Linked DNA regions of Homo sapiens: regions 1, 2 and 3 are each linked to region 4. Evidence: promoter capture Hi-C in 16 types of primary human blood cells and fetal thymus (Javierre and others, 2016). All regions are on one chromosome and are shown on one strand. The core of a region is centred on a gene start or on the middle of the fragment in contact, and the rest is flanking DNA. Distances in the headings are between cores, read along the strand shown. Region 1 holds the start of DENND1A (DENN domain containing 1A). Region 2 has its middle 110 kb from the start of LHX2. Region 3 overlaps ARPC5L (actin related protein 2/3 complex subunit 5 like). Region 4 holds the start of PSMB7 (proteasome 20S subunit beta 7).

Region 1 (6,891 bases), core at 2,801-5,300, 490 kb before region 4:
TCATTCAAACACTAAATAAGATTTAAAAATACCTGTTGAAGATTGTCAGTTACCACTGCTCCTTTTATTCTTCTAGATAAATGTCCATACAGATGTAACATTTAGGTTTCCAGGGTGCTACCTGCATACTGGTGACCTTCTCTTTTTTTGTCCATTAAATGTTGATTTGAGGCAAGACAATGTTCCTTTATTAAAATAAACATGAGGCTGGGCACGGTGGCTCACATCACACCTGTAATCCCAGCACTTTGGGAGGCCAAGGCAGGCAGATCACCTGAGGCTGGGAGTTCAAGACCAGCCTGACCAACACGGGAGAAACCCGTCTCTACCAAATAAAGAAAATTAGCCAGGCATGGTGTCTCATGCATGTAATCCCAACTACTGGGGAAGCTGAGGCAGGAGAATCGCTTGAACCCGGGGGTTGGAGGTTGCCATGAGCCAAGATCATGCCATTGCACTCCAGCCTGGGCAACAAGAGCAAAACTCCATCTCAAAAAAAAAAAAAAAAAAAAGAACTAAATAATCTAGTAAAAGGCCTGCGTAAACCATATAATTTGCCTTAGAAATTTATAAAATATAAAACTTTTCTTCCTCAAGGGTTTTTTTTTTAACTCGATAAACACTCAACTCGGTCTTAATTAGAATCTTAATATAGATCCTAATGTATTTCTTAAATGCGTTCCATGAACTCTTCTCAAACAACCATGTGCCAGGCATTGAGTCTGACACAGGGAACTCAAAGATAAATAAGACAGTCCTTCCTCTCAAGAAGTTTATGTCCAGCATGGTACGGGACACAGACAAGAAACGAGATTCAGTATTGTGACTGCAATAAACACAAGGGGCCACAGAAACACGGATGAAGGGCACCTGGCCTAGACTGGAACAGGAGGGGGTGGGGGTGGCAACAGGAAACTGGCATCAAGGCAGGCGTCTGGGGGATGGCATCTGATCTTAGGCCTATAAACTCCCATTCTCTCATTTGAAAAATGTGGTTAATAAATAGCATCGCCACCACTGGACAGTAGTGAGGGTTTCATGAAATGGTTCACATTAAGGATTTCCACGGTACCTGACAGAGATTGTGTTCAACCAGGCTTAAACTTAAAAGAGAAGTCTGATCAAACACGAAATCTCAACACCTGTGCCTAGCAACTCACGTGCTTTACCACTGATCACACAACAGACACCAGCTTCACAATTACACACAATATTGTTTTAAATCAACTTTTATTTTTTAATAATGAGACAATGTTAAGCCCTACTCTGCATGTTAACAGCCTAATTCCTTGGTCATTAAAATTTTCTTCTCCATTACCTTAAACATACCTTTCTCTGACATTTCTAATATACAGTAATGTTCTTAGTCTTTTGATACAGAAGGTGAAAAAAAAGAAAAAAACCTAACAATTACTGAGTTTTTAACATGGACCTGACATTTACATTGATACTGTGTTCAATGCTCATAATAACCCTACAACCTGGACACAGTCCTCCCCATTTTACCTTCAGGGAAACTGAGGTTGAAAAGGCAGTCTGTGTAAAGTTTCATAATTAGCATTAAAAAGAGCTGGAATTTGAACCTAGACCTGATTCCACCTAGTCAACTGACTTGCTGCATCAGAGATAAGCAAGAGAAAACAAAAGGAACCCCTCCCCCTTGTCCCTACCTCCAAGACTGTCCTATTCAATGGAACCTGCACACTTAGATTTCACCACAGCCAGGAGAACATCTTGAATGCCCTGCCAGGAGGGAAAGCCAGCCAGTAGTAACCAAAGCTCTGTCTTCTCCAACAACTAGAGGAGCACTTAAGTGGGTAATTTCCTGTCCATCCCCATTCCTAGCTACAGGCAGAAGTTGCATAATCAACAGTCACTATAAATCACAACTACTTTTCATAACTTCTCTCTTCATATTCTCTTTCGGTTTCACCACAAGCTAACATATTTCCCAAGCCTAAGTTTTTATCACAGAGTAGTCTAGTTTCAAGATCAATAAGGCTATTCTTCATACTCATTTCACGCTTAATACAATTCCATGCCTTAGTAAATTCCCTAACCCAAGTGCTCAGAATTAGCGATGGGTTCCACAAAACACATTTGAGAAATGTATTTGTCAACCTGCTACCTTGGAGAGCAACAGAGAGATTTGATGGCTAGCCATCTGAACTTTTACTTGCTGGATTTTAATACTGGTTCTGACACTCACTGCTTCATGTCAGGCAAGTTTCTGAACTTTTCTGTAACAAGAAGGGTAAGTGTCCTCACGCATACTCTGCAACTCTAAGTTGGCTTCTGGAAAGTGTTTCTAAGTGCTATTGAAATCCAAGTTTACAACTCTTACTTGGAAGCAGGAGCTAAACTTGAGTGCCTCTTTAATCCCAATGTTTCACAAACGACATCTTTTTACCTCCCAAGCCTCTCAAGCTCTTGTTTGGAGCATGCTTCTAACTTTTTTCTCATTTCCACAAAAATAAAGATTTAACAGAGTGTTCATGCGACTCTTCCATTTTCATTACCATAAGCAAACTTTTCTAGTTTCATTCAGCAGATGTCTCAAGGCTGCTGCAGCGCATCTCATACATATTTTGTAAATGAGAAGCCTAACCACACGGGGGACTGCAAGGCTGGGCAAGGGTCACACTGCACGGGCATCACCTGGACATGAGATGCAATGTTTGAATAATTATTAGTTTCACCCTTAAGGCCCTTCTCCTTTCAAACTTCCCTAGTACAATTCTCAAAATGCTGAAATAAACACATTCCACAAACTTTCTTGTAAGAGGGTTTAAAGTGTCCTAGGAAAGTTGTTTTACAGAAAAGCCTATGCTGTCAACTTTGCTTTTTAATGCCCTTAAACAATTCTATTAGTCACAGAGGAAAAAGTGAACATTTGTTAGTAATTAGAGATAAAACATCTCCAGTTCTGGGGCAGAGGAAGGGAGAGGCCACAAGAGGACCTGGCTGGGAGGGGAGATAGAGTCGAAAGCCACACACCCAAATTGGACCGCTTAAGAGTTGCACTTTCCAAAGTCAACTTCTAAGTCTACAAGGACAGCAACAATGTTTCAGTGGATTCTGAAGTTACATGTATCAACAATTTCCCCGGAAAGCTAACCCTCCACCGGGAACTCCAGGTGAATGAATGAGTGAGGGAATTCGCCAGATTGAGTTACAAAGCCTTTCCAACGATTATCAAGAGCAGGTGCTCGGTTACAACACAGAGGTATCCTCCTTCACAGCCTTTGGACCTTGCTGCGTGGAGATTTTCACAGATAAGAGGGGGGAAATAGAGAGACAGGCCTTCCTCCCCGGCCATCCACACCTTAGGTGGCCACACCATGAGCGGCCCCTCCCTCTAAGAACCTCACGCGACTTCTGTGGGGGCCGCAGGCCTCAAGCGGCCAGGCTGCAACCTCTCCGGACCTGCCAACTTTCAGGGGCGCCCCAAACATGCCCAAACATGGGGAGGTGCTTCCGGGGCTTTCCCACTCCCCTTCCCCACAGTTGAAGGACCATTTTCAGGGGCTCTCCGTAAACCCGGGGAGGGGGCCGCCCTGTAATCTCAGCTGTTCCGACCCCCAGGTGAGGAGGGGACACCTGACCCCCGGCGCCCTGCCACCCCGCGCGCACCCCGCCCCCGCGCCTCCCTGGATCGCCATAGCAACCGTCCCCCTCCCCGCGTGCCGGCGTCACGCGGGGCGCCCCTCTGGTCTCGGCAACAAGTCCCCCGCGCGGCCCGCGGCCTGCAGCCCTGGCCCGGCCTCGCCGCCCCGCGCCCGGCCCGGCTCCGCCCGGCCCGGCCGCACTCACTTGATCCTGGAGCCCATGGTCCCCAGGCCTCCTCATGGGCCCGCGGGCCCCGCTCGGCGCTGCGCTGCCCGCCCGCCCGCGGCCGACCGGCCTCCCTCTGGCGCTCTCCCCGCCCCTTCCTCCCTTCCCTCAGGCTGGGGCCCGCCCGCTCGAGGCTCGCTCCCTCGCCGCCGCCGCCGCCTCCAGGGGTTAATGTACTCGCTCCAGCCCGGCGAACGCCATGGTCGCCGGCGCGCGTGCCCGGCGCGCGCCGCCCCCTCCGCCTCTCACCACCGCCCCTCCCGCCCGCGCTGCCGCCGCCGCTGCCCGCTGGGGCTGCTGGGAAGTGTAGTCCGCTCGCGGGGGCGGGGCCGTGGCCGGTGGGGGCGGGGCGGGAGCGCGGTCACCCGCACGTCTCCCAGGGCGCGGGCCCCGGAGGACTCTGGCGTTCCGTTGCAGGCCCTTACACATCTGCACCCCACTGCGCCCCGCTGGAAACCTCCACTCACAGCCGCCCTGAAGAGACCCTAATCCTCTCATGGAGACCCCAAGCCCTCCCGATGAAACCGCCACCAATCCTCCCATTGGAGGCCTCCCACCCAGCCTCTCTAACGGAGAGCTAATCCCCCGCCCAGGCCTCCATGAAAACACGTTTTCCCTTTAACATCCCGCACCTTCCAGTAAGTTCCGTGCAGAACCTCTTCTCCATCACACCGTCCACTTCCCCATCTGAAGGCCTTTCCTCTTCCTTTCCCCTTAGAGCTTGAAGGAGACCCCACATACCTACAGGAAAGCCACCTGGGGGCTTCGTGGACCCACGTGGTGGCTCAGCTCTGCCCTCCCGCTGAGGACCTCTGCCTCCCTTTATCAGCCGTTTTGGGAACTCCAACATCGAAGCCTCCTGTTAACACAACAGTCCCTGATAGAGATTAACTCAATGCAAATGAAAGGATTTGAGAGCCGAGATCACCAGCCTGCTACCTACCCCTGCTCCCCCTTGGGATTCACTTCCATGAACACCTCAATTTCATCCCCTCTAGGGCCAGAGGGATCATAAAGGAAGCAATAATCACAGCTACCATTAGCCACCCTTTAATGAGCGGGTGAGTGCCCTTTCTGCATCAGACACAGTATTTCCGTACATCATTAGTGCCAATCCTCACAATAATCCTGTGTTCATCTCCCTAATTTACAAAGAGGAAACTGAGCCACATTCCCAAGGTCACATAACTAGCAACGAGTGAAGAAGCCAAGATTAGTGTCCAGACTGAATCATTCCAGACACCTGTGACATAGTCATGCTTTAAGGTGGCACCTTTGGCCACAAGTCCAAAGACATTTTTAATATTAGGCTTTTTTTCCTTTTTTTTTTTTTTTTTCCAATTTTCTGTCCCGAAATGCCATTCATCACTTCTGCCATTTTAGTTCTTATAAATGCATGGAGTGCCTCCCCACCCTACCCCCACCCCATAGCCTCTACGTAACTGGTCCTGCGTCCTAGCTCCCGGCCAGGATGGGAGGAAAGAAAGCCAGAAGATAAGTCGTAGAAGACTTCTTCTGTTGGAGTCACCTTCTGAATAAAGATAGTTTCTCCCTTTTGCCTCTGCCTTTAGGTTGTTGAAGTCAAAGGGTAAACTTTTTAAAATGAAAACCAAAAAAAAAGTGAAAATGTCCAAACTGTCATTTTGAATTTAAAGTCTTATGCACCCAGACACCAATACCGACTTGTAAACACCCCCAGGAGCAAAGCTCTGCTAGACAGGCAGGAGCTCTGTGGTGTTTATTCACCTATGAAACTTCTCCAAGGAACAGTTGCTATCAAGATCTTCCCTGGAATGGGAGCCAGTTCAAAAGCTCTGAGCAGGAGACTATAAATAAAACAAAGTTATTGGTGGAGGGCAAAGCTGGCTGCTTTTCAAAGGAGGTTGTAGCCATCCTGGCCACAAATATGTCTGGGTGCCTGCTGGGTGGGGTGTGTGTGTGTGTGTGTGTGTGTGTGTGTGTGTGTGTGTGTGTTGGAGAGGGAGGTAGAAGGTGGGGATTATGTGTCTGCTCAGGTGGCCTCAGAGACAGCAGGGTGGTCTGAGGAGAGAGCACTGGACTGGGAGTTAGGAACGTGGCTTCTAATTCTGGCTTCAGCATTGACTGGCAGATTTTATGCAAATGATTAGACAAGTGTATGTTTTAGTTTCCTCCCCCGTAAAATGGGCAGAGAGAGTGATGAGAAGCTTCCATCATAAGAGCGAGTGTAACATAGGAGCAAAGAGCACAGGCTCTAGAACCAGACTGCCAGGGTTTAAATCTCAGCTCTACCTCTTACTAAATATATGGCCTTGGGTGAATTATTCCTTCTCTGTGTGTCTCAGGTTCTCTGTCTGTAAAATGGAAATGGTGATAATAATAGACCTATTTTAGTGAGTTGACACGAGGATTAAGTGAGTTAGTGACATTTATAAAGTATTTAAACAGTGATTATCACATATTAAGTACTCAAAAATTAAAAGCAACTATTATATACAAAACACTTAGCACCGTTTGGCTTTTATTATTAAAATTAATAAGGCAACCAGTGGCTGGGCATGGTGGCTCACACCTGTAATCCCAGCACTTTGGGAGGCCAAGGCGAGTGGATCACTTGAGGCCAGGAGTTCAAGACCAGCCTGACCACCAACATGGTGAAAACCCATCTCTACTAAAAAATAGAAAAAATTTAGCCGGGTGTGGTGGCAGGCGCCTGTGGTCCCAGCTACTCAAGAGGCTGAGGCAGGAGAATCGCTTGAACCCAGAAGGCAGAAGTTGTAGTGAGCCGAGATCACGCCACTGCACTCCAGCCTGGGCAACAGAGCAAGACTGTCTCAAAGGAAAAACAAAGGCCGGGCATGGTGGCTCATGCCTGTAATCCCAGGACTTTGGGAGGCTGAGGCGGGCAGATCATGAGGTCAGGAGATGGAGACCATCCTGGCTAACATGGTGAAACCCCATCTGTACTAAAAAAAAATACCAAAAATTAGCTGGGCGTGGTGGTGGGCACCTGTAGTCCCAGCTACATGGGAGCCTGAGGCAGGAGAATGGCGTGAACCCAGGAGGCGGATTTTGCAG
Region 2 (6,714 bases), core at 2,593-5,092, 290 kb before region 4:
AACCCAGGAGGCAGATGTTGCAGTGAGCTGAGATCACACCAAGACACTCCAGCTTGGGCAACAGAGCGAGACTCTGTCTCAAAAAAAAAAAAAAAAAAGAAAGAAAAGAAAAGAGAAAGCAATGTGTTAGACAACCCCATATTTGTTTCTGAAAAAAAAAAAAAAAAACTGTGTGTGAATGGGCTTAATATTTTGAAAAGTATTAATGTGGTTATAAAAATATTTTCTGAGTATGCAATAATGGGTCAGGGAACCAGCCATCTGCCTTGAAAAGATAGTCCAGAGCAAAGGGCAGTCATGCCTTGCTCACAAGTCATGCCAGAACGTGAGAGCTCTTAGTCTGTTCAAGCTGCCATAGCAAAGTGCCATAGACTGGGGGGCATAAACAACAGAACTTTATTTCTCACAATGCTGGAGGCTGTCAGTTCAAGGTCAAGGTGCCAGACAATTTGGTTGCTGGTGAGGGCTCTCTTCCTGGCTTGCAGATGGCCACCTTCTCACTGTGTCCTCACATGGTGGGAAGAGAGAATGAGAGAGAGATTGCTTCTTCTTCTCATAAGGCCGCCAATCTGGTTGGATTAGGGCCCCATCCTTCTGATCTCATTTAACCTTAATTACCTCCAGAAAGCCCTGCCTTCAAATACAGTCACACTGGGGGTTAGGACTCCAACATATGAATTTGGAGGGACATAATTAAATCTATAGCAAGCTTCATGGGGAATTGTGTTGCAACAGGGACTACCCAAGAAGGTGACCAATAATGGCCATCTTGAAGTCTGGCTACCACAGCCCATGTTTTGTGGCATCTTTGGATAATTTCTTTCTGATGCAAACAGCCTTGGAAGACAGGCAGAGTCTCTCCCTCTAGAGCCAAAAGCAGGCATGCTCACTGCCCATTAGAGAGGGCTTGGGCTTCCTAAACTCGGGGTTCCTCTCCTGTGACACAGTCCACTGTGTGTTCCCAGGATTTCTGGGGCTCTTCATGTTGATATGTGGGAATTTAGGCTTGGAAACCAATGAGAAAATGCTGATACTCTGGCTGCTGCTATTGCTGTGAGTCATGACCTGTCCTTTGTGTCAGACCCTGGAGCCTCATGTCTTCTACCAGCATCCATGAAGCTGTGGCAGGCTAACTTGTTAGCTTGCAAGTAGGGTAAAATCTCACACCCTAGACAGTGCTTGACAGTCCTCTGTTGCACTGAGTCAGGGTTCACCCTTGTGGCCAGAATATGGCAGAAGTGATGTTATGTAACCTCAAGACTATGTCATCAGGATAACGTAGCTTCTGTCTGGTTCTCTTAGGATGCTCACTCTTGGATCCCAGATACCATGCTGTGAGGAAGCTCAAGTTGCTCTATGGAGAGGCCCCCATAGAGAGGAGATGATAGCCCATGCTAGCTTGCCGGAAATATGAGGAGCCAACTTAAAATGGATCCTCCAGCCCAGTCCAACCTGCAGATCATTTGCAGCCCTGCTGACATCTTACTAAAATCTCAGGAGCAACTCCGCCAGAACTGCCCAGCCAATTCCCCCTCACCAAATTCCCAACTCAGAGGAATCAGGAGAGATATTACATGATGACTGCTGTTTGAAGCCATTACATTTTGGGTTGATTTATTATGAGGGTTGATTATTAACACATGGGACTCTTGGCTCAGCACCCCCCTAGTAGCAGTGGCAGCCAGCAGAGGGAGACTCGAAGCTTTCCTGTGTTGTTCAGAGGAAATATGGATGACTAAATTTTGGTATATCTATACTCTGGTATACTGTAGCACTATTAAAAAAAAATGAAGTAGGCCAGTCACAGTGGCTCACACCCATAATCCCAGCACTTTGGGAGACTTGAAGCTTTCCTGTGTCGTGTAGAGGCAGTGGTAAGAGCCAGGGCCACTGTGAGGCAAGAGAGGGTGACTTCAGGCCAGAGGGAATCTGGGTGGGGCTTTTGGGCTATGGCCTGGATGGAGGATGAGAAATTACAGTAGCCTCAGCCTTCAGTCTGAACACTTGTAGGGCACATGGCAACCAGGGAGAGGGACACAGTCCCAGAGGCCAGAGAAGGCAGATGGTGACTCTGAGCCTATGGCCCCAACTCTCCCTCCCCCACACAAGGCCACTGATATGTTTTGGCTGTGTCCCTACTCAAATCTCATCTTGAATTATAGTTCTCATAATCCCCAAGTGTCATGGGAGGGAGCCGGTGGAAAGTAATGGAATCATGGTGGTGATGGTTTATAAATGGCTTTTACTCTCTTCACTCAGCTCTCATTCTCTCTCCTGCCACCCTGTGAAGAGGTGTCTTCCACCATGATTGTAAGTTTCCTGAGGCCTCCCAGCCATGTAGAACTGTGAGTCAATTAAATCTCTTTTCTTTATAAATTACCCAGTCTTGGGTATTTCTTCATAGCAGCATAAGAATGGACTAATACAGCCACCTAAGCCACACTTCCCCTTAAGCATCCAGGCACAACCACTGGAGAGAAGCGAGACAAGGGAGCTATCTGGGGAGATCAGGAACTACAAGAAGGACCAGTTTAGATGATTGGACTGGACAAATGGAATCCACACATAGGGGAAAGTGTCCTATTGTTCCCACTGGCCAATGGTTGTGGGGCTCAAGAAGACAAAATAAAGAAACAACATTTATCCACATTTCCAAGTTGTAATGTGAATAACATTTGTGATCTTGCGAGCTACACACACACACACACACACACACACACAAACACATGCACATGTAAATAGAAAACATCTGAAAGGATCTATGATCAATTGATAACAGTGATTACTCCTAGAGAGAGATTTTTTACTCTATTGGTTTTGTTTTTATTTTTAAAAATGTATTTATCTCTCTTTTTTTGCTAAAAGCATTGAAGGGGGAGAGAGAAGAAGAAAGTATCAGGTGGTGGAGGAATACGTCTGAAAATGATCGTTGGGTAGGCAGGTCTGGGTTAGGAATCCTGGATCCACAACTTACCTGCTGTGTGTTGGAGGGCAAGTTAATAAATCCCTCTGAGCCTCAGTTTCCCCATCTATACAATGGGGGATGGCAATAGGACCTCCTTCCTAGGACAACGGTAAATATTCAGTGAAATAACCCATGTAAAGCATTCAGATCAGCACCTGACACGAAGTCAATGTTAACTTTTGTGTATAACAAATCCTATCATCAGCATGTTTTGCTTTTGTTCATTATTTTGAAAGATTAGAAATTCAGAAAAATCAAGAGAATAGTATAATAATCACACATAATCATTCCACCTAGATTCACAGCAAATATACAGGCATGTGTTCTCCCTTTTAAAAATGAACCAAACATTACAGATCAAGCTGCAGCCCTCCCAGCCACCCCCGGGCTCCCCTCTGGCCTCCTTTCTCCTGGGCAGGTCCCAGCAGGAGTGTCATGCATTTGCTTTTGCTCCAGTCATTCTCCCAAGTGCAGCTCCCGTGCTGGGTGGTTGGAGGCCTTATACCCTGAACCCGATGATGCAGAGAGGGACGCCTAGAGACACAGGTGGCAGGTGAGCAGCAGGCGAGGCAGGAGGAGCCATCCAAGGGAGGGCCCCATGAGCTGCCCCACAGAAGGGGAGGTGAGAAGAGGGCCGGAAGCTGTTCCAGGCGCCTGATGGGCTCTGAGATCTGCCAGTTTCCTGACAATGGTTTAGTCATGATCACCTGCACACAGTCCCAGGGCCACTTGCAATGTCACCTGCACAGTTAGCCCCACCTCCCAGTGTCACCAATACAGTCACAGAGTCACATAGAATGTTCCCTGTACCATCAGCCCCATCACCCCATGTCAATCCAACACATACAACGTCACCTGCCCATTAGCGAGTCTCACTATGCACAGCCAACACTCACTCATGCTGTCACCTGCACAGCCACGCAGTCACTCACGACCTCACCTGCTCACGCCCAGTCCCATCGCAGTGTCACAGGCACAGTCATGCAATTTCCACAGCAGCGTCCACACAGTCCCTCATGGTGTTGCCTGCACACAGCCACGCAGTGTCCCAGGCACAGTCACACACAATCCCACAGAGTCACCTGCCTGCAACCAGCCACGCACAGTCATTTGCCGTCCCATGCTTGCCGCCCCCAGCCTTGCCAGGGGGTCTGACATCACAAACAGTGTCACAGGCAGACCCCTCCCCTGCAGAGCCCTGCCCACAGACCCCACTGCCCACCATGTGCCCGCCGGTCAGCCTGGGCTGGGGCTGCCCTGGTCAGAGGCCTGGGCCTGCCTTTGCCCTCAAGCTGGCTCTTCAGGAGCAGCTTGGGTTCCACTTGAGCCCCAAGGATGATACTGGAGCCGGGGGCCTGCTGCTGCTGGAAGCAGAGCCAACGCAAAGAAAAGCCTTTGTTCTTGGTGGGTCGGTCATTAAGAGGAGCCCGAATCCCTCTGCCAGCCCCTCCCCTCCAACAAAGGAACAAAACAGCAGCTATTTTTAGACTCGTGTCAAACTCCCCCTCAGACCCTGGGTGGGGAGTCCCGGTAGAGGGGCGTCTGCGAGGGCTCTAATGAGCCTGCGGCCGGCAGGTCCTGCTCTCCAGGCAGCTGGCCCTTGGCTCTGCCGGGGGAGAAGCGAGCCCAGGATACTCCAGAGACAAAGAGGAGGGCCAGACAATGAGAACAATGCCCGGAGCCCCAGGATGCCCACTTCCAGAGAGCAACCCCCACTCTTTGGAAGGAGGTCTCCCTGGACACAGGGCAAGGGCATCAGGACACCCCCTACCTTGTGTAATCCTCCAGGCACCTCACTGGCTCCGTGTCCCAGAGGAGGCAAGTGACTTGCTTGGAGGGGCAGGTGATTTCTGCTACATGAACCTTGTGTGATGGGATACTCTGGATGGCCCAGATCCAAGTCTGATGGTCCAGATCCCAGCTCTGCCCCTTACACTTGTGTGGCCTCAGGCCTCAGTTCCCCCACCTGTAAAATGGAGATGAGGCCAGTCACGGTGGCTCACACCTGTAATCCCAGCACTTTGGGAGGCCGAGGTGGGCGGATCAACTGAGGTCAGGAGTTTGAGATCAGCCTGGGTAACATGGTGAAACCCCGTCTCTACTAAAAATACGAAAATTATCTGGGCATGGTGGCGCGCACCTGTAATCCCAGCTACTCAGGAGGCTAAGGCAGGAGAATTGCTTGAACCTGGGAGAGAGAGGTTGCAGTGAGCCAAGATCGCACCACTGCTCTCCAGCCTGGGCAATAGAGTGAGACTCAGTCTCAAAAAATAAAATAATATAAATAAATAAAATGGAGATGATAATTCTCGCCTCCACAGTTGCTTTGAAGAGTCTGGGGGATAAGACCTGGGCACATAGCAGGTCCTCAGCCAGTCCGAGAGCCCTGGATTGTGTGGGCTCCTTGCCAAGCAAGGGCTTTGTCTTGTTCAAAGCTGGATCCAAGGGCCCAACGCACTGCCGGGCACATAGTAGGTTCTCAATAAATATTTGCTCAAGAGGTTAATGAAGGGTCCTTACCAGCCTTCAGCCCTACAGGCTTGACCCAACTTAAGCCACTTTCTTCCCAAGCGCTGCTCCCCAGCCTCCTCTTGGAAAGAAACTTGCTGGCTAGGGTGGAGCCCTCGTCTGCAGGTGAGAAGCTGCCTCCCCAGGCTGGAAGTCCCATGCTGCAATGACAGCGTTCTGACACCAGGGGGCGCAGTCTCTTAAGGTTTCCACAGCAGCCTGGGTCCTTCCCGCGGGGGCCTGGAGGGCTGGAGAGGATGCGGCCCACCCGGTGGGGCACCTGCCCACCCTCGTTAGCGGAGATCTACGGGGTCGTTCTAAAACTCTATGGAGCAGCAGCATTACAACCAAGTCATCATCCCTCAAAGCTTAGAAAGAAGCACTTCTTCAGGTCTCGCCTCCTCCACTGACTTTAAGCCACTTTCTAGTGCCCTGTCCTCAAAGACTATCTATGGTGACCCCCTTGCTCCCCAATTCTTGCCCGACCAGACTTCAAGATTCCTTGTTCTGTCATCCTTCTGTTCCCCCAGCTGGGGAAGCCCAGACCATCAGAGCCGGAAGGGTCTTCCTAGTTGATCTCATGGTCTTCCAGCCCATTCTACAGATGGGAACACTGAGGCCCACAGAACAGAACTGCATCCTCCAGGCTGAACAGCAAGGAGGAAGCAGCCAAGACCCATGCCCAGGCTCTCTTTTTCAGCTGGCGCCATTTTGCTCATGGATTGTTTCACTGTTGTTCTAGGGAAAGGGAGAATGGGGAAAAAGGAGGGAAGAGAAGGGGAAAAAGGGAAGGGAAAAGGGAAAAAGGAGGAAGAAAGATCCTGAGCCTTCTTATTCTGTTCCAGACCCTAGGCGTTCCTCTTCACCCTCGGCATTTCCCTGAGTCCTCTACAAACCCTTGAAAAACAACCCATGATTATCTCCATTGATGGATGAGGAAAGTGAGGCCGGGTGAGGTTGCCCCAAGTTTCACAGCTAACAAATAACAGTACCAGTATTTGCCCCAGGGCCATCTGATTCCCAAATTGTATATGGTTCAACCTAATACAGCAGAAAGAAATTCCCACATTCTTTCTGCTGTATTAGGTTGAACTGCATAAAATTGCTGTTCCCATGGCCAGGCATGGTGGCTCAAGCCTGTAATCCCAGCACTTTGGGAGACCAAGGCAGGTGGATCACTTGAGGTCAGGAGTTCAAGACCAGCCTGGCCAACATGGTGAAACCCTGGCTCTACTAAAAAT
Region 3 (7,592 bases), core at 4,324-6,823, 460 kb after region 4:
TGGGTGGACGGCTGTGGGGAAGACAGAACCCAGGAGGGAGTGGAGGCGGCCGCCGTATTTCAGCCCTGGGGTCTGAGATTGTGTCTCTCTTCCCCCAGTCAGTCTAACCCTCCCGCTTAATGCTGAGAAAGGGGGACCCTGTGGTTCCCCTGGACACCTTGGTGGTCTCAGCCACGCTCAACAAGTGAGTCTTGGCTCCCCCCAGTACCCTTCTGGTGCAGGAAGCAGCGGAGAAAACTAGTAGTTCAGAGCTAAGAAAAACCAGACACCTTGAAGCGAAGTGTGAAAGTGGAGCCCCACGCCTGGAAATGACTGTTCTTGTGGCCACAGAAAACAGCATTTAGAAAAGATTAAAAATAGAGGTGATTGTCACAGCCTTGCTTGGTCCTTTAGCAGTATGAGCGCAGGAAACTGACTTATTCTCACCGGAAGGATTTTTCTTTATTCAAATGGTGTTCCAGGAAGCCTGTCCCCTCCCCCCGCACGGGTGGGGGCAGGGTTGGAGGCCCATGCTGTACATAAATCAGGTTCTCGGTGTTGAACCAGTTGACTCAGCTTGGAAAGTGGGGCCTGCTGCTTTAGGGGGAGCCCGGCAGTGCTCCTGAGTGTGCCTTTAAACCGAAAACCTTCAGACTTGATTTGAACAGGAATGTGTTTTCCGAAGTGGAGATTCAAGCTTGTAATTCCTGCCCCATCAGGATCTCCCAATCCACCCTCCTTATGAAATGGGGTCAAGGGAAGGGTCCCCAGGAGGGAAGGTTGGTTGTAGTCTGGTGTAGGGCCTAGTTCATGGACAGTCAGTGCTGAAAGGGGCTCCAGGGTCAGGCCTTTGGCCCAGGACTCTCATTGAACAGATGAGATCAAGCCTGTCAGCTGCTGCCTTGGTCTGGGTGCAGAACCTTGTTGAAGGTCATGTCTTGGGACTCCCCTGCCTGGTGACAGGTTCCTTGAGGCTGCTTAGAGGCCTGGGCTTAGCACATCCAGGGGATGGTCGTTTCTCCATTCATGGCAGCGTCAGAAGCGTCAGAAACCTTGTTACCATGGAGAGTGCTCCACTTGGGGTTGGGGAAAGGGAGGTTAACGGATAAAGGTAACTGAAACCCTGGCAAATACGGGGCCCAGGTGGAGGAGAATGGAACTGATATTTATTGAGTCTCTATCATGTACCAAGAATCGGACTTATATTAGACCATTGAGGACAGGGGAGCAGGGAGAGGGATAGATGGATTGGGGTTGGGGAGGGCAGAGAGGGGCCCTGTCCTGGGGCTGTATAGGGAAGTGTGTGTGGCAGGAGATGACACAGATGGAGTAGAAGGAACCCGGCTGTGCATCTGCGCACACCCTGCACTACCATGCTCTGGCTCTGTGACCTCGGATAGGTCGCATACCCTTTCACAACTCAGCATCTTCTGTTACGTGGCGGACAGCCATGCTGGCTTCCTAGATTCCGTGGGAGCCTCATGGGCTAACATCAGCATCACTGGGCACACAGCAAGTGTCCTGGACATGCAGCTCGGGTCTGCAGATAGAGCGGCAGCATGGGATTGTGGGAGGAGCTTGGGTGTGAGGGCCGTGTAGACAGCTTAGTTTTGTGACCTTGCGCAGGTAATTTCTGTTCTCTGAGCCTCAATTCCATTGCCTTTAAAATGAGATAATGATTATTGTCACAAGGATTTTTGGAATGAGATGGCGTGTGAAAGCACCTGGCACAGGATCCGAGACCTTGTGGCGATTTAAAAGTATGAGTTCCTTTCCCCTTCAGTGAAGCAGCTTCTATACTTCTGGATCAGGGCTCTGTCCAGAGCAGTGGTTGTGAGCGATTTTGCACCCTTCCCCTCCACCCCCAGGAAACTGGAGACATTTTGATGGTTACAGCTTGGGGATGCCACTGGAATCCAGTGGGCAGAGGCCTATGACACACAGCTAAGATCCCACGTCAGAGAATCCTGGGTCCACAGTGTCAGTTGTGCCGTGATTGAGGAAGATCTAGAGGAGATCAAGGGCTGGGCAGGATTCCCTCAGCACCACAGCCTGTTCTCTGAAAAGGCCTAAAGCCAGCCAAGTATGACAGCCGGCTTCACAAATGATAGGTGACTTCAGGGAGGTCCTCCCTGCGCCCCACATCTCCCAACTGCTGAAGGCCCTCACCCATCAATGGGCCGAGTGATTGCTGGACGCGTGGTGCTGAGTTAACGCCACAGCAGTAGCTTTTTGCCCCCGTGGACTAGTTTTATACCTGCCCTTCCCCATCCATCATTTGAATGATGTCATTTGTTAGTTGTGCCAGGTTTACATGAAGAGCAAGTGAGCCTATGTTTTCTGTTCAGCCTATGGGATCCTGCTTATTGCTTTGGGGACACCACATTAGAAAAGAGTTACAAGGGCTGGGCGCGGTGGCTCACACCTGTAATCCCAGCACTTTGGGGAGGCCGAGGCGGACAGATCACGAGGTCAGGAGATCGAGACCATCCTGGCTAACACAGTGAAACCCCGCCTCTACTAAAAATACAAAAAAAATTAGCTGGGCGTGCTGGCGGGCGCCTGTCGTCCCAGCTACTCAGGAGGCTGAGGCAGGAGAATGGCATGAACCTGGGAGGCGGAGCTTGCAGTGAGGCAATATTGCGCCACTGCACTCCAGCCTGGGCGACAGAGCGAGACTCCGTCTCAAAAAAAAAAAGGAGTTACAAAGTAGAGGTTATCAGTGGCTGATATCAGGCTGGCCTTGTTTGGATGGGGAAAAGGAACTCCAGAACTGAAAGACAGAGGGACTGGACTGCCTCTTGAGTGTGGAAGGTGGATCAGAGCCAAGCAGGGAGCTGGGGAACCAGCGCTGGGAGTGGCTTGCCTGGTGGCGCAGACCCAGCTCACTCAAGATGGATCTCATACTGGGGAAGCCAGGAGATTCAGCTCTGCTCCGAAGGCCCTTCCTGTCTGCACGTGGGTATCACTGCATGAAGAGGAGTAGAGACCCGATTGGGCAGAAGCCATTCCTTGTTCTATTTTTGAAGCTTTTTGGCTGAAGCCAGTGTTTCATACGAGGAAATGAAAGTTGGCTGATGTAATTCAGTTTAAAATAGGTGTCACCTTTGGGGACCTAACCCAGATTGTAATTTTCTTTTGCATGCTGGGTATTCAGAACTCAGCAAAGAATGTGTTGTCAGGATTGCAACTGAGGTTGGGGGGTAAGGGTGGAGACTGGCTCATTGTTGGCAAAAGCTTCTGTTAGATTGATAAACTCTTTCCAGGTAACAGTTGGGACCTCATTGATCCCGATAGATCTTAGAAGTTCTAGCACATCTTAATTTCCTTAATAGTTTAATTGATGAAGAGCATTGATGAAGAGTTAGGAGGTCTCCCTTTGTACCTACATTTTCCGCTTTTTTAGAATGAGAAGATGAGAACGACCTCCAGTTCACATGTACGGGTGCTGTGAGGATCCAGTAGGGGAGATACAGTGCTCAGCACCAAGCAGGTGCAAGTGAGCACAATCCAATTTTACATCAAGTTACCCCTCCAGGACAGTTGCTTTGACGTGGAAGGTAGAGAGGGAGTTGAAAGGAGGGTTTGCATGGTTGGCAGAGGTGCCCTGCAGCCTCCCTGTGCAGGCTGTAAACCGTCTCTGCCCCCCTGGAAGCCGTGGAAGGTGGGTGGTATGGATGAGATCCCATCTGACTCTGTTCCTGAGCTGTTTCTGAAGTGAGCTTGTTCATGACGGCATGGATGTGCTTGAGCCTAGCTATCCTTAACTGGTGGTGATGCACAGGGGACATGCTTCGGGCATTCCATGCAGCCTTGCGGAACTCTCCCGTCAACACCAAGAATCAAGCTGTGAAGGTAAAGGGGTGGCGCTGCGGCTCTGCTGGGTGCTGTTGGGACCAGGGCTGTGGGTGTCTGCCCAGTGCGAGTGTGAGCTTTCATCCACATCAGAGGGAGTGAGTTGGCACTGGGCGGGGCTTCCAGGGAAGCCTCCTGGCGCTCCCTAGGTGGTGAGGCTTCTCTGACATCAACGCTGTCAGCGTTTATATACGAGAACCTCCCCACAGAAGCCTTCACTCCTGCTCACGGCCTCGTAGGCTGAGAAGTCAGCCTGGCCCTGGCTGATGAGGAAAATGGATGAATTCGCTCACCTGTGGTGCTTATGCTCCCACAGACTGTTAAATAGGCTTTGTCTGCCTGAGGATTTTAAGTACCCGTACGCTTTCCTACCTTCTAAAAACTAAATTGTGCTTACTGCATCACCAAGTCTAAAATTTGGTTCAGAGAAAGGGGTCTCCCTGCAGCTGGGATTCTGGCAGCTGTGACAGCATCTTGATGTCACCAGTGGCTGCACCTTCACAGAGTTCTGGGGAATGGCCCCACCCTTCTGGGTGTGAACACAAGAGGGACGCTGCAGCCGAGTCAACCTGGTTTTATTTTTATTTTTTAATAGTCCACCACCATTGTGGAGTATAATAAGGCCTTATTGGTGTCATCTAAAATAGTGATGGGCTGGGTGCCATGGTTTATGCCTGTAATCCCAGCACTTTGGGAGGCAGGAGGATCGCTTGAGCTCAGGAGTTTGAGACCAGCCTGGGCAACATAGCGAGACTTTGTCTGTATTAAAAAATAAAAAAAATAATTAGCTGGGCATGGTGGCATGTGCCTGTAGCCCTAACTGAGGTGGGAGGATTGCTTGAGCCTGGGAGAGGCTGCAGTGAGCTGAGATTGCACCACTGCACTCTAGCTCAGGCAACAGAGCGAGACCCTGCCCCTCCCTCCCTCTCTCCCTCTTTTCTCTTCTCTCTCTCTCTCTCTCTCAGAGTTGATACTTGTCCTAGTAAACTACTTACTCCCCCAAAATAAGTAGGGTAACTTGTTGGCATAAATAAAAGATACTTTGAAATTTAAATCCACAAAAGACGTTCTAACCCACTTATTTTAACCATCCTGGACGAATTAGAAACTGGGCAGTGTTTCTGGTGATCTGTGTCCTTGCTTTGGTGTGGGGCATGGCATGGCGGTGCCTTCGCAGCTCTGGGACTCACTTGCTCTTTTTCGTCTGCAGGAGCGAGCCCAGGGCGTGGTGCTGAAAGTGCTCACAAACTTCAAGAGCAGTGAGATTGAGCAGGCTGTGCAGTCACTGGACAGAAACGGCGTTGACTTGTTAATGAAGTACATTTATAAAGGCTTTGAGAAGCCCACAGAAAATAGCAGCGCAGTGTTACTCCAGTGGCACGAAAAGGTATGTGAACGCTGCCACGCGCCCCAGTGAGCCACCTGGCTTGCCTTGGGGTTCGATCAGCAGGCCAGATTTTCCAGAACAAACGTAGGACGGTCTGATAGGCGTGTGGGGTCAGAGGACGAGCCCCAACCTGGGACATGTCATCACTTCCCTCTCCCAAGGAAGCTCCTGGTAGGGACCTGCTGTCTGTGGTAATTGCAGTTACTTTTTTGCTTTTTAGCTGCCGATTTATGTCAGGCAAGACAGGGTGCCCTTGGTACAGGACATGTGGGCAGATAACATGGCATAGTAAGGTGGTCAGGGAGTCTAGGTAGGAAGGGGGCCTGCTGGTTGGTTGGGGCTTCATGATACTTGCAGTGGTGGAGGCAGCTGTTGGGGGTTCTTAGAAATAGAGTCCTCCAGCCAGCTCTAAGGGCTTCCTGCCCTGGCCTCAGCCTTAGCAGGCCAGAGTGAGCAGTGGGCAGAAACCTTGACCTCACTTAATATGGCCTTCGTCCAGGTGAAGCAGAAAGAGCTGTGTCTGCCCTTCGCTTGGGTCCGTGTGAGAGCAAGGCCTTTGGCAAGCCTGTGTCGTGCCTGTACCACTGGGGCTGCCTCCCACACCCTCCCCTGCACACCCCTAGTGCCGCAGTAAGCACGCCCACCATTAAAGCAGACCAGGAGTTACTAACCTGCCTGCCTTCCTCAGAGGCTCAGTGTTGAGTTGGAAGAGAGGGGTTTTACAGTGGGCCAGTCCTTAAGGTGGTGTGGGTGCTGGGCTGTGGTTGTGGCCTTAGGTCTGCTGGCGGGTGTGCTGCACCTCCTTGGCCTCCCCTCTCCTGGGCTCAAGGAAGTAAACAAGTCCTCTGTATGATGGGGAGGCCAGGACCTCTCGTCCCTTTAAGGCAGCTTGGTGCCTGCCAGTCACCTCAGCGGGCGGCAGTCAGTGGGCTTGTGTGCATCTGTAAACTCAGCACTTTGGGAGGCTGAGGCAGGAGGATTGCTGGAGCCCAGGAGTTCAAGAACAGCCCAGGCAATGTAGTGAGAACCCATCTCTACAAAAAAATAAACTAGGCTGGGTGCGGTGGGCTCACGCCTGTAATCCCAGCATTTTGGGAGACGGAGGCAGGCGGATGACCTGAGGTCAGGAGCTCAAGACCAGCCTGGGCAACATGGTGAAACCCCGTCTCTACTAAAAATACAAAAATTAGCCGGGGGTGGTGGCGGGCGCCTGTAATCCCAGCTGCTCGGGAGGCTGAGGCAGGAGAAGCGCTTGAACTGGGGAGGCAGGGTTGCAGTGAGCCGAGATCGTGCCATTGCACTCCAGCCTGGGTGACAAGAGCGAAACTCCGTCTCAAAAAAAATAAATTAGCCGGGCCTGGTGGTGCACACCTGTGGTCCCAGCTACTCAGGAGGATGGCTTCAACCCAGGACATCAAGGCTGTGCAGTGAGCTGTGATCTGGGCAACAGAGTGAGACCCCATCTCAAAAGGGAAGCTCGAGGGCTCTGCTTTGTGTGCTGGTGACAGTGTTCTCAAGCCAGTTCTGCCCAAGAGCCAACAGCTCTCGGGACCCCACGGCTCCAGGACAGGGCTCCTTCCCTAGAATGTGCTCTATCTCAGGAATCCTCTTTCGAGGATCTGTGACGGGATCTAGGTCAGGGAATGTCCCCCCTGTCTCTGGCAAGCCAGGCTCCCCTTGGCCAGCCAGGTCTCATCTGACACGTTTTCTTTTCCTGCCCCCACAGGCCTTAGCAGTAGGAGGACTAGGCTCCATTATAAGAGTTCTTACAGCAAGAAAGACTGTTTAAAAAAAATAAAAAGACTCATGTTACCTTGAGAAGAATTCTGGATGCCCAGGCTGGTGAAGAAGGGATTGACAATGGACCATCTTCCTAGGAACTCCCAAGTAAACTATTTCAGGACATGTATCTGCTGAAATGTATTTTATTTTCAAGGTGGAGGGGAAAATCGTCTGTTTCCTAAATCCTGTTTAGGATCTGATAGTCTATGCCTTTGTCTCCGAGTACTGCAGAACTGACATTTTGACGGTCTACCAGCGTGGCGGCTGGTGTTGGTCAGATGCACCTGTGTGCACTGGGGGAGGGATGGTTTGGGCAGGTGCAGATCCAAGGGCTGTGGTAAACGGGAGAGCTTGTGTTTTTGAAGTGGAAAAAAACCCAAGAGTTTGTACAGACATCCTGTCTTCCCAGAGAAGGTGGACACTCTTGGGCTCATTGTAAAGTGCCTGCTGCATCAATAAAGCTCTTGGCTTATTAGTCTATACATTGCGGTGTGTTTCGTGTATGTAAAAAAAAATGGTAATGAATGGGATGGTAATGAATGAGAGTTCAGTTGTTGTTCCGGAAACCCGATGTGGAAGGAGTAGACCT
Region 4 (7,739 bases), core at 2,532-5,031:
CGCAATTATTAAAGGAGAAAGAGAAACAAAACTACTAATATGAGCTGTGAGTCAGCAGAGAATGAAGGTCAGGTCAGGCAAGCTACTGCACCTCTTTAAACCTCAATTTCTTCACTTACAAATAGGAGACGCTAATAGTCCCTATCTCAGAGTTAAAAGGATGAAATCGTGCATAAAGCGCTTTAGCATAGGTCCTGGAACAGAGTAAGAGGTAGATAAAGGTTGGTTAATATTAATATTATCATACCCACTGACAGCCAATTATAAATATCACTTTTCATTCACTGTTATTTTGCCCCTAAAGGGAGGGGGTGGGGGGAAGGAGAGACAATCATTTGGGTTTGTGTTTATGGGGAGGAGAGAGTAGTTTCACAAGACAACTTGATAGTTCCTCCAGCTATAACTTTCTTACCGTGAACAAAAAAGTTTCTCTTATCCAGTAATATCCCTATGCTCCAGGAAATGACTCAACTGGTGACATGTGATTTACTCATGAAAAAAATCAGGCCCCAGAAATTCAAATGCACCATCAAAAACCATTTAAAATGGCTCTTTAATATAACAACTGATTTCCGGAACAAAATGTGTATTTCTGAATGTGTTTTTGCTACTTTCCAGGCTTCTCTTGGCTGAAAAAAATCTAAGATATGAGAAGAAGATACTAGTAGGAATCCCCATTCTGGAAACTTACCTGAAAAGCATCTGCTTCAGCATCCGATTGGCTGTCACAACTCTGGGAAGACGGCCAGTGGAGAGGGAGTGGAGCTCCAGGTTGGAAGAAATGAGCTGGGTTGTCATGTCTGTGTCTGCAGCTGTCCCAGCACCACAACAACTGAAAAATCCAATTAGAAACTTAGCTGAAATCCAATTACCAGAGGGCTCAATTAGAAGTAATGGGTTCTTGGATAACTTCCATGAAGTTCAGGTACAGAGAGATGTTTTTGAGTATATCTATGCTGTAACTTCTCTGTTTAGTCAACCTTAAATAAACAGAAAATTGAGAATATGCATCTAGTTATATGCAAATACATTATCTATGGCCCAATGGAACACATGAAATTATTGGTTTCTGTGATAACAGTGTGTGCATTCCATTAATGCTACAAATATATCCAAGTTGTACAGAAGTGCCAGGTGTGTTAACTCTTGCAATTCAACATCTACCAAGTATTTACTATCAGATACCAGTAATTACACTAAGCACTGGGAATAAAGAAAATATGAGAGGCCTTGTGCTCAAAGTTGAGTGTAAGATACACAAGAAGACAAAAATTATAACACATAATTTAATACACAGTAATAGCATAGGTACAAAATCCTACGGGAAACCGGAGGAGAAGGTAATTGATTCTGATCATTAAGAAAAGGTTTCAGGCTGGGCATGATGGCTCATGCCTGTAATCCCAGCACTATGTGAGACCCAGGCGGGAGGATCACTTGAGGCCAGAAGATCAAGATCAGCCAGGGCAACATAGTGTGACCGCATCTCTCCCAAAAAAAAAAAAAAAAAAAAAAGAACGAAAAAAATGTTTAAAAAAAGGAAAAGGTTATATATGAGCTGGAATAAAAACACTCTACAAGCAGAGAAGGCAGAGTTTCTAAATAGAATCTCACATAAGCAACGGTAGAATAGCTTGGAGATGAGGGAAATAGGGACAGTTCAGACGTAACTGGAGCACAGGGTGATGGCAACTGAAAAAGACGCTTGAAGGGTAGGCTTTCTATGAGACTGTGCAAGGCCACAGAATTTTGATTTTTATCCTAAAAGCCATGTGGAAATGTGACAAGTCTCTTGAAAAGCTTTTTAAGAAAGGGATGCCATCAGATCTATGTTTTACAAAATCCAGTATGGCAGAAGAGTGAACAATAGGATGCCTAAGAGAGGCCAATTAAATGGTAACTGCAATAGTCCAGCTAAGAAAAAAGAACCTCTATGGTTCAAGTTAATGTTTGAAAAAAAGAAAAAGAAAAAAGAACCCAAACTAGAGCCTTAGCAAAGGAAAGGATAGGAGGGAATGGATTCAAGAGGCACAGAGAGGGCAAAACTGGCCACCAATTCAATTGGAGACTGAAGCAAAGAGAGGACTTGAAGTTACTGGCTTAGGTAACAGGTGGCTGGAAATGCCATTTAAGGGAGACAGAAAATACAGGTTGAAAAACAGGTTTTAGTAAGGAGCACAGGAAGGTCAATTTTTAGCCCTGACATGTTTGAAAATATAAGAGTTATTCAAACGAATCAATACTTACTAAATATTAGGAGATATGAAGTGTATTTTTGAACAGTTCTTGTCAGCAACAACCATCCCTTCAGTTGCTCTTGTATCTGCTCCAAGAACTATGCCATCCTATTAAAAAAAAAAGTTTTTAAACAATTTTACAAATATAAGCCAACCGCAACTCTCTATTCTACTTTAGGGAATACTATGTTGGCCATACCACATGCTCCCCTAATCTCAAAACGCCAGCCAAAACTCATAGCAAAAATATTGTGCTACACTTTCAGGATTTAAGAAAAGGTTTCTTAGTAAATGCTACTAATTGAATCCTGAGTAGGTAAGAATTATTCCCATTTTCAAGTGAGGCTCAGGTGTCGGGTAAATTCCTTGTAAATCAGAGCTAATCTGGAAAAAACCTGGATTAAGACTCAGGAATCTTTCCATTAAATTAGCCATCACTATCAATTTCCTTTTAAAACATGTTGCTTTTCTTTAAAACATGTTGCACAGGTAATCATTATCCCTTTTGACGTTTCCAACAATTTAAGGCAGGAGTTATCTCCATTTGATGCATCTGAAGGTGTCCCTGTGAGAAGGAAAGTGAGCTGCCAGAAGTTGGAATCAGCACTATAGAGTTCAAAGGTGAGACAGACCTGTCTGACCCCAAATCTCGTGATCTCCCATCACATACTTCAGCTTCCTAAACTAGTAATTAAGAAGCTAACTGACCTGTTTAAAAAAAAAAAAAAGAAAGAAAGAAAAAACCTCAGCAAAGTGAGGAAAGAACATAAACTGTTAAGAAGCACACAAAACCTGACAAAAGCAGTCGCTCCTGAAAGACGGTCTCCTGATGTATTCTATAGCATTTGCCTTTCCAGACCGAGCCGGGAGAGACACCGGAAGCCAAGTGTTCTGATTCCTGTTGCCGGTTCAGTCACTGCTGCTCTTAGCCTAACCCGGCTTACCTTATAGACCACCCCAGCGATGGTCGTGCCAGTTTTCCGGACCTTTGGAAGCTTGTATCCCCTCTTTGCAAAATCGGCTTCCAAGACGGCATTCCTAAGAGCAAATGAGAGAATCAAGTGTTGAAGGGCAGGACCACATCGCACAGCACTGGCATGAAAAGTGCCTAACAGAGAACTCAGGAAAGCTGCTACTTGTTTTCACGCCCATCTGTTTAATGAATCCTCCCACCATCAGCACTGTTCTCCCGTTTTCCAACGAAGACAGTCTTACAAAGGGGCCGTGACGTGCCTTAGGAGACGGAGATAAACGGTGGCCGAGTGCGCTGGGAAGGTGGGAGAGCAGACCCGGCTTCAGGAGAAACCCACGCCCAGGCCCTGATTCCCCTGAGTCACACTAGCCGCGGGCCACAGGCCCCGCCATGAATTCTTCCCTCAGAATTCTCGTATCACACCTTGGCCCAGCTCCCACCCGAGCACCGCACTCTTCTCCCTCCCTGAACCAAGCCCCAAGCAAGGCGGCACCTGCGGCAGTTATCAAAAGAGAAGCCTCCAACTGGTGGAGCATACACCGACACAGCCGCCATCTTCCCAAGAAAGCAGTTCCGGGTCGGAGGCGGGTGCAAACAAAAAGAGCCGAGCACTTCCGGCGTCGCTGGCAACGGGGGCTGAAGGGGCGGGGCAAACGCCGCACTAGAACGATTGATCTTAGAGATTCTGGTTCCTAGAGAGGCCAGAGATGTTTGAAGTATATCGCCCCAAGTGGCACGGAGGAGAAAGTGACACCCGGAACCGGGAAAGGACTTGTCCAAGGTGAACGCACCAGCGACCAGGTCTCCTGCCGCTCAGACTGGACTTGTTTCTACCGTTAATTTGGTTCTGCGGTGCTTCAGAGACAGACAGACCCAAGTCCCAGGCACAGCCCCACCACCCCCTTGCGTTAAGCAAGTCTCTTCAACTCTCTGAATCTGTTTCCTCCGCTATCAGATGGAGATTACAACCTAGCTCAAAAGGCTGCTGTAGAATGGCCATTAAGTCTGTGAAAAGAGGCTCAACATGATTAGTCATAGGGTGAATGCAAAGCACGACCACAGTGAGATCCCACTTCGCACCCGCTAGGATGGCCATAAACAAAAAGACAGAAAAGCGCAAGGGTTGCGAGAGTGTGGAGAAATTGGAACCCGAATACACGGCTGGTGAGAATGCAAAACGGTGCGGCTGCTCCGGAAAACAATTTGGCAGTTCCCCAAAAAGTATTATCCTCTTAGATACGCACCCGAGAGGGTTGAAGACATGTATTCACAAAAACTTCTACAAAGGTGAGGTAGAAGGCAGGCCTCCATTCAGAGATGGGGCTGAGATACCTGACCAAATTGAGGACTAGCTAAAACAGGGCCTGGACGGAAGCTGTCTTCCCTAAGACTCGCTCACCAGCCAGCCAAGTCAGTTTACCGTTGCCATGGCAACACTCGTGAGTTACCGCCCCTTTCCATGGCAGTGGCACCATAAACCAAAAGTTACTACCCCTTCCCTAGAAATGCCTGCATAAACCACCCCTTAATCTGCATGTAATTAAAAGTGTGTATAAATATGACAGCAAAACTGCCCTGACACTCTGCCTAAGAGGGTAACCCTGCTCTGCAGGAGCAGTCATGGAGCTGTAACGCCGCCACTTCAATAAAGCCGTTTTCTTCTGCCTCTAACTTGCCCTTGAATTCTTTCTTGGGCAAAGCCAAGAACCCTTGTGGGCTCAGCCGCACTTTGGGGCTTACCTGCCCTGCGTCAAAAGGGGTCTCATTGGCTGGGCGCGGTGTCTCACGCCTGTAATCCCAGCACTTTGGGAGGCCGAGGTGGGCGGATCATGAGGTCAGGAGATTGAGACCATCCTGGCTAACACGGTGAAACTCCGTCTTTACTAAAAATACAAAAACTTAGCCAGACGTGGTGGTGGGCACCTGTAGTCCCAGCTAGTCAGGAGGCCGAGGCAGGAGAATAGCTCGAACCAGGGAGGCAGAAGTTGCAGTGAGCTGAGATCACGCCACTGCACTCCAGCCTGGGCAACAGAGCAGAGACTCCGTCTCAAAAAAAAAAGCGAGGGGGGGGTCTCATTATTCACAATAGCCAAATAATGGAAACAAATGTCCATCCACTGATGAATGGATAAACAAAATATGGTAAATTCATTTAATGGAATATTATTAGACCATAAAGAAGTCTGAAGCACAGATACATGTTACAACAGGGATGGACCTTAAAAATATACTGAGGGAAAGAAGCCAGGCACAAAAGGCCACATAGTGTATCATTCCATGTATGTGAAGTGTTCTTAATAGGCAAATCCACAGACAGAAAGTAGATGTTTGGTTGCTAAGGGTTAGGGGAGGAGGAGAGAATGGATAGGACTGTTTAGTGGGCGCAGAGTTTTTGGAAAATGATGAAAATATTCTGGAATTACATAGTGGTATTGGTTGCACGATATTATGAATACACTAAAAACCACTGAGTTGCACACTTTAAAATGGTTAAAATGGTGACTTCTACGTTAGGTGAATTTTATTTTATTTTATTTTATTTTATTTATTTATTTATTTTTTTGAGACTCGGTCTCCCTCTATCACCCAGGCTGGAGTGCAGTGGCATGATCTCAGCTCACTGCAACCTCCACCTCCTGGGTTCAAGTGATTCTCATGCCTCAGCCTCCCAAGTAGCTGGGATTACAGGCATATGCCACCACGCCTGACTAATTTTTGTATTTTTAGTAGAGACAGGGTTTCACCATGTTGGCCAGGCTGGTCTCGAACTCCAGACCTCAAGTGATCTGCCCACCTCAGCCTCCCAAAGTGCTGGGATTACAGGCATGAGCCACAATGCCTTGCCAGTGAATTTCATTTTAATAAGGCTATTGTGAGTATTAAACATTGTACATGAAGACCATCTATCTTAGCATGTAGAAGCTTCTTATAAATAGTTATTATTAATAATACATTCATTTCATCCTGTCAACAAACCTAAGAGATAATTATGTAATTCAACTCATTTTACTGAGGGAATTGAAGGCTCCTTTTACAGCCTGAATGACTGTGGAATGAATTAATTTATTCACTCAACAAATATTTATTGAGCTCCCATTATGCGTCAGACATGGTTCTAGGTGCAAATGAATGAATGAAGCACCTAGAACCAGTGTCTATCACAACTGTGTGTTTAATAAACATTTGTCAAAGGTTGAATTCCCTTTCGTTACCTCTGAGTTTTCCGTTGAAATTAGGGAAATAAATTCATATTCTGCAGTTCTAGCCCCTAGTAACTCAGTAGCTGACCTTACTTGGAAGTATTCCAAATGAATTGAATTTGATTTGATATTACAGAGGTAATCAAGTTAAAAATGAGGTCACTAGGCCCTAATCCAACAGGACTGGCGTCCTTATAAAAATTGGAAATTTGGGTCGGGCATGGTGTCTCACACCTGTAATCCCAACACTTTGGGAGGCCAAGGCAGGTGGATCACTTGAGATCAGGCGTTCAAGACCAGCCTAGCCAACATGGTGAAACCACGTCTCTACTAAAAATACAAAAATTAGCTGGGCATTGTGGTGGGCGCCTGTAATCCCAGCTACTCAAGAGGCTGAGGCAGGGGAATCACTCGAACCTGGGAGGAGGAGGTTGCAGTGAGCCAAAATCATGCCACTGCACTCCAACCTGGGCAACAGAGAAAGACTCTGTCTAAAAAAAAAAAAAAAAATTGGCAATTTGGAGACAGACATGCACACAGGGAGAACCCCATATGAAGATGAAGGTAGACACTGGAGTGATGATCCTATGGGCCAAGGAATGCCAAAAGTTGCCATCAAACCACCAGAAGCTAGGCGCCAGGTCTGGAACAGTCTGCCTCACGGCTCTCAGAAGAAGCAACTTTGCAGACACCTTGCTTTGGACTTGCACCCTCCAGAATGGTGAGACAATAAATTTCTGGTGTTTCAGCCACCCAGATTGTGGTACTTTGTTATAACAGAGCTAGGAAACTCAGACACCTCCTGAGCTCACAGTCCAGGGGAGGAGAGGAAGTCTCAGAAAAGAAAGACTCCCAGCGCTGTGTGCCAACTGCCAGGCGGGGGAAGCATGGGAATGCGAGTGGGGGGCACACACTCTAGGGAAGCCTAGAGGCTCAGACGGTGTGGAGCCCATCGGGACGACAAGGCAAGAGGGTCAGGCACGTGGGCGAAGGCTTGAGATGTGCCAAAAACAAAACCAAACCGAAAACCCTGGACATGGTTTTTAGGAAACAGTCGTGAGGCTTCTGCAGTGGTACCTGCAGCCTCCGGGGGGTGGTGGTGGGTGCCTGAGTCCCGCCGTAGGGTCTCAGTGGGAGCTAGGAAGCCAGGGCCCAGCCAGGCGTGGTGGCTCATGCCTGTAATCCCAGCACTTTGGGAGGCCCAGGCAGGCAGATCACTCGAGGTCAGGTGTTCAAGACTAGCGTGGCCAGCATGGTGAAACCCCGTCTCTACTAAAAATACAAAAGTTAGCTGGGTGTGGTGGCGCCCGCTTGTAATCTCAGCTACTT

Evidence for each region. Contacts are between HindIII fragments. The CHiCAGO score rates a contact against its expected background, and 5 or more counts as called.
Region 1: a contact is called between the fragment with the promoter of DENND1A here and the fragment with the promoter of PSMB7 in region 4, in 9 of 17 cell types (non-activated CD4 T cells, total CD4 T cells, activated CD4 T cells and 6 more). The highest score is 14.9, in non-activated CD4 T cells.
Region 2: a fragment that was not itself captured here is called in contact with the fragment with the promoter of PSMB7 in region 4 in 2 of 17 cell types (naive B cells and endothelial precursors); the score reaches 6.3 in naive B cells.
Region 3: a contact is called between a fragment that was not itself captured here and the fragment with the promoter of PSMB7 in region 4, in 1 of 17 cell types (neutrophils). The highest score is 5.4, in neutrophils.

Annotation. Positions count from the first base shown.
Region 1 is chr9:123,926,076-123,932,966 of GRCh38, forward strand. DENND1A (DENN domain containing 1A) reads right to left here and starts at 4,051. Exons shown (of 24, transcript NM_001352964.2): 1 at 3,814-4,051. The coding sequence starts at 3,830. RefSeq lists enhancers at 1,808-1,857, 2,908-2,987, 2,923-3,608, 3,238-3,437 and a silencer at 3,788-4,277. The HindIII fragment of the contact is 11,751 bases long and covers 1-6,018 here.
Region 2 is chr9:124,121,341-124,128,054 of GRCh38, forward strand. No RefSeq gene overlaps it. Among named protein-coding and RNA genes, the nearest start is that of LHX2, 110 kb to the left of the region's middle. RefSeq lists an enhancer at 1,619-1,778. The HindIII fragment of the contact is 3,993 bases long and covers 1,847-5,839 here.
Region 3 is chr9:124,869,931-124,877,522 of GRCh38, forward strand. It overlaps ARPC5L (actin related protein 2/3 complex subunit 5 like), which reads left to right. Exons shown (of 6, transcript NM_030978.3): 4 at 3,762-3,834; 5 at 5,045-5,221; 6 at 6,948-7,592. The coding sequence ends at 7,010. Among named protein-coding and RNA genes, the nearest start is that of ARPC5L, 12 kb to the left of the region's middle. RefSeq lists enhancers at 16-455, 916-965, 2,604-3,104, 2,802-3,031. The HindIII fragment of the contact is 4,718 bases long and covers 3,215-7,592 here.
Region 4 is chr9:124,411,661-124,419,399 of GRCh38, forward strand. It overlaps PSMB7 (proteasome 20S subunit beta 7), which reads right to left and starts at 3,782. Exons shown (of 8, transcript NM_002799.4): 1 at 3,704-3,782; 2 at 3,182-3,275; 3 at 2,248-2,345; 4 at 692-832. The coding sequence starts at 3,765. RefSeq lists enhancers at 1-1,180, 3,689-3,738. The HindIII fragment of the contact is 2,900 bases long and covers 3,231-6,130 here.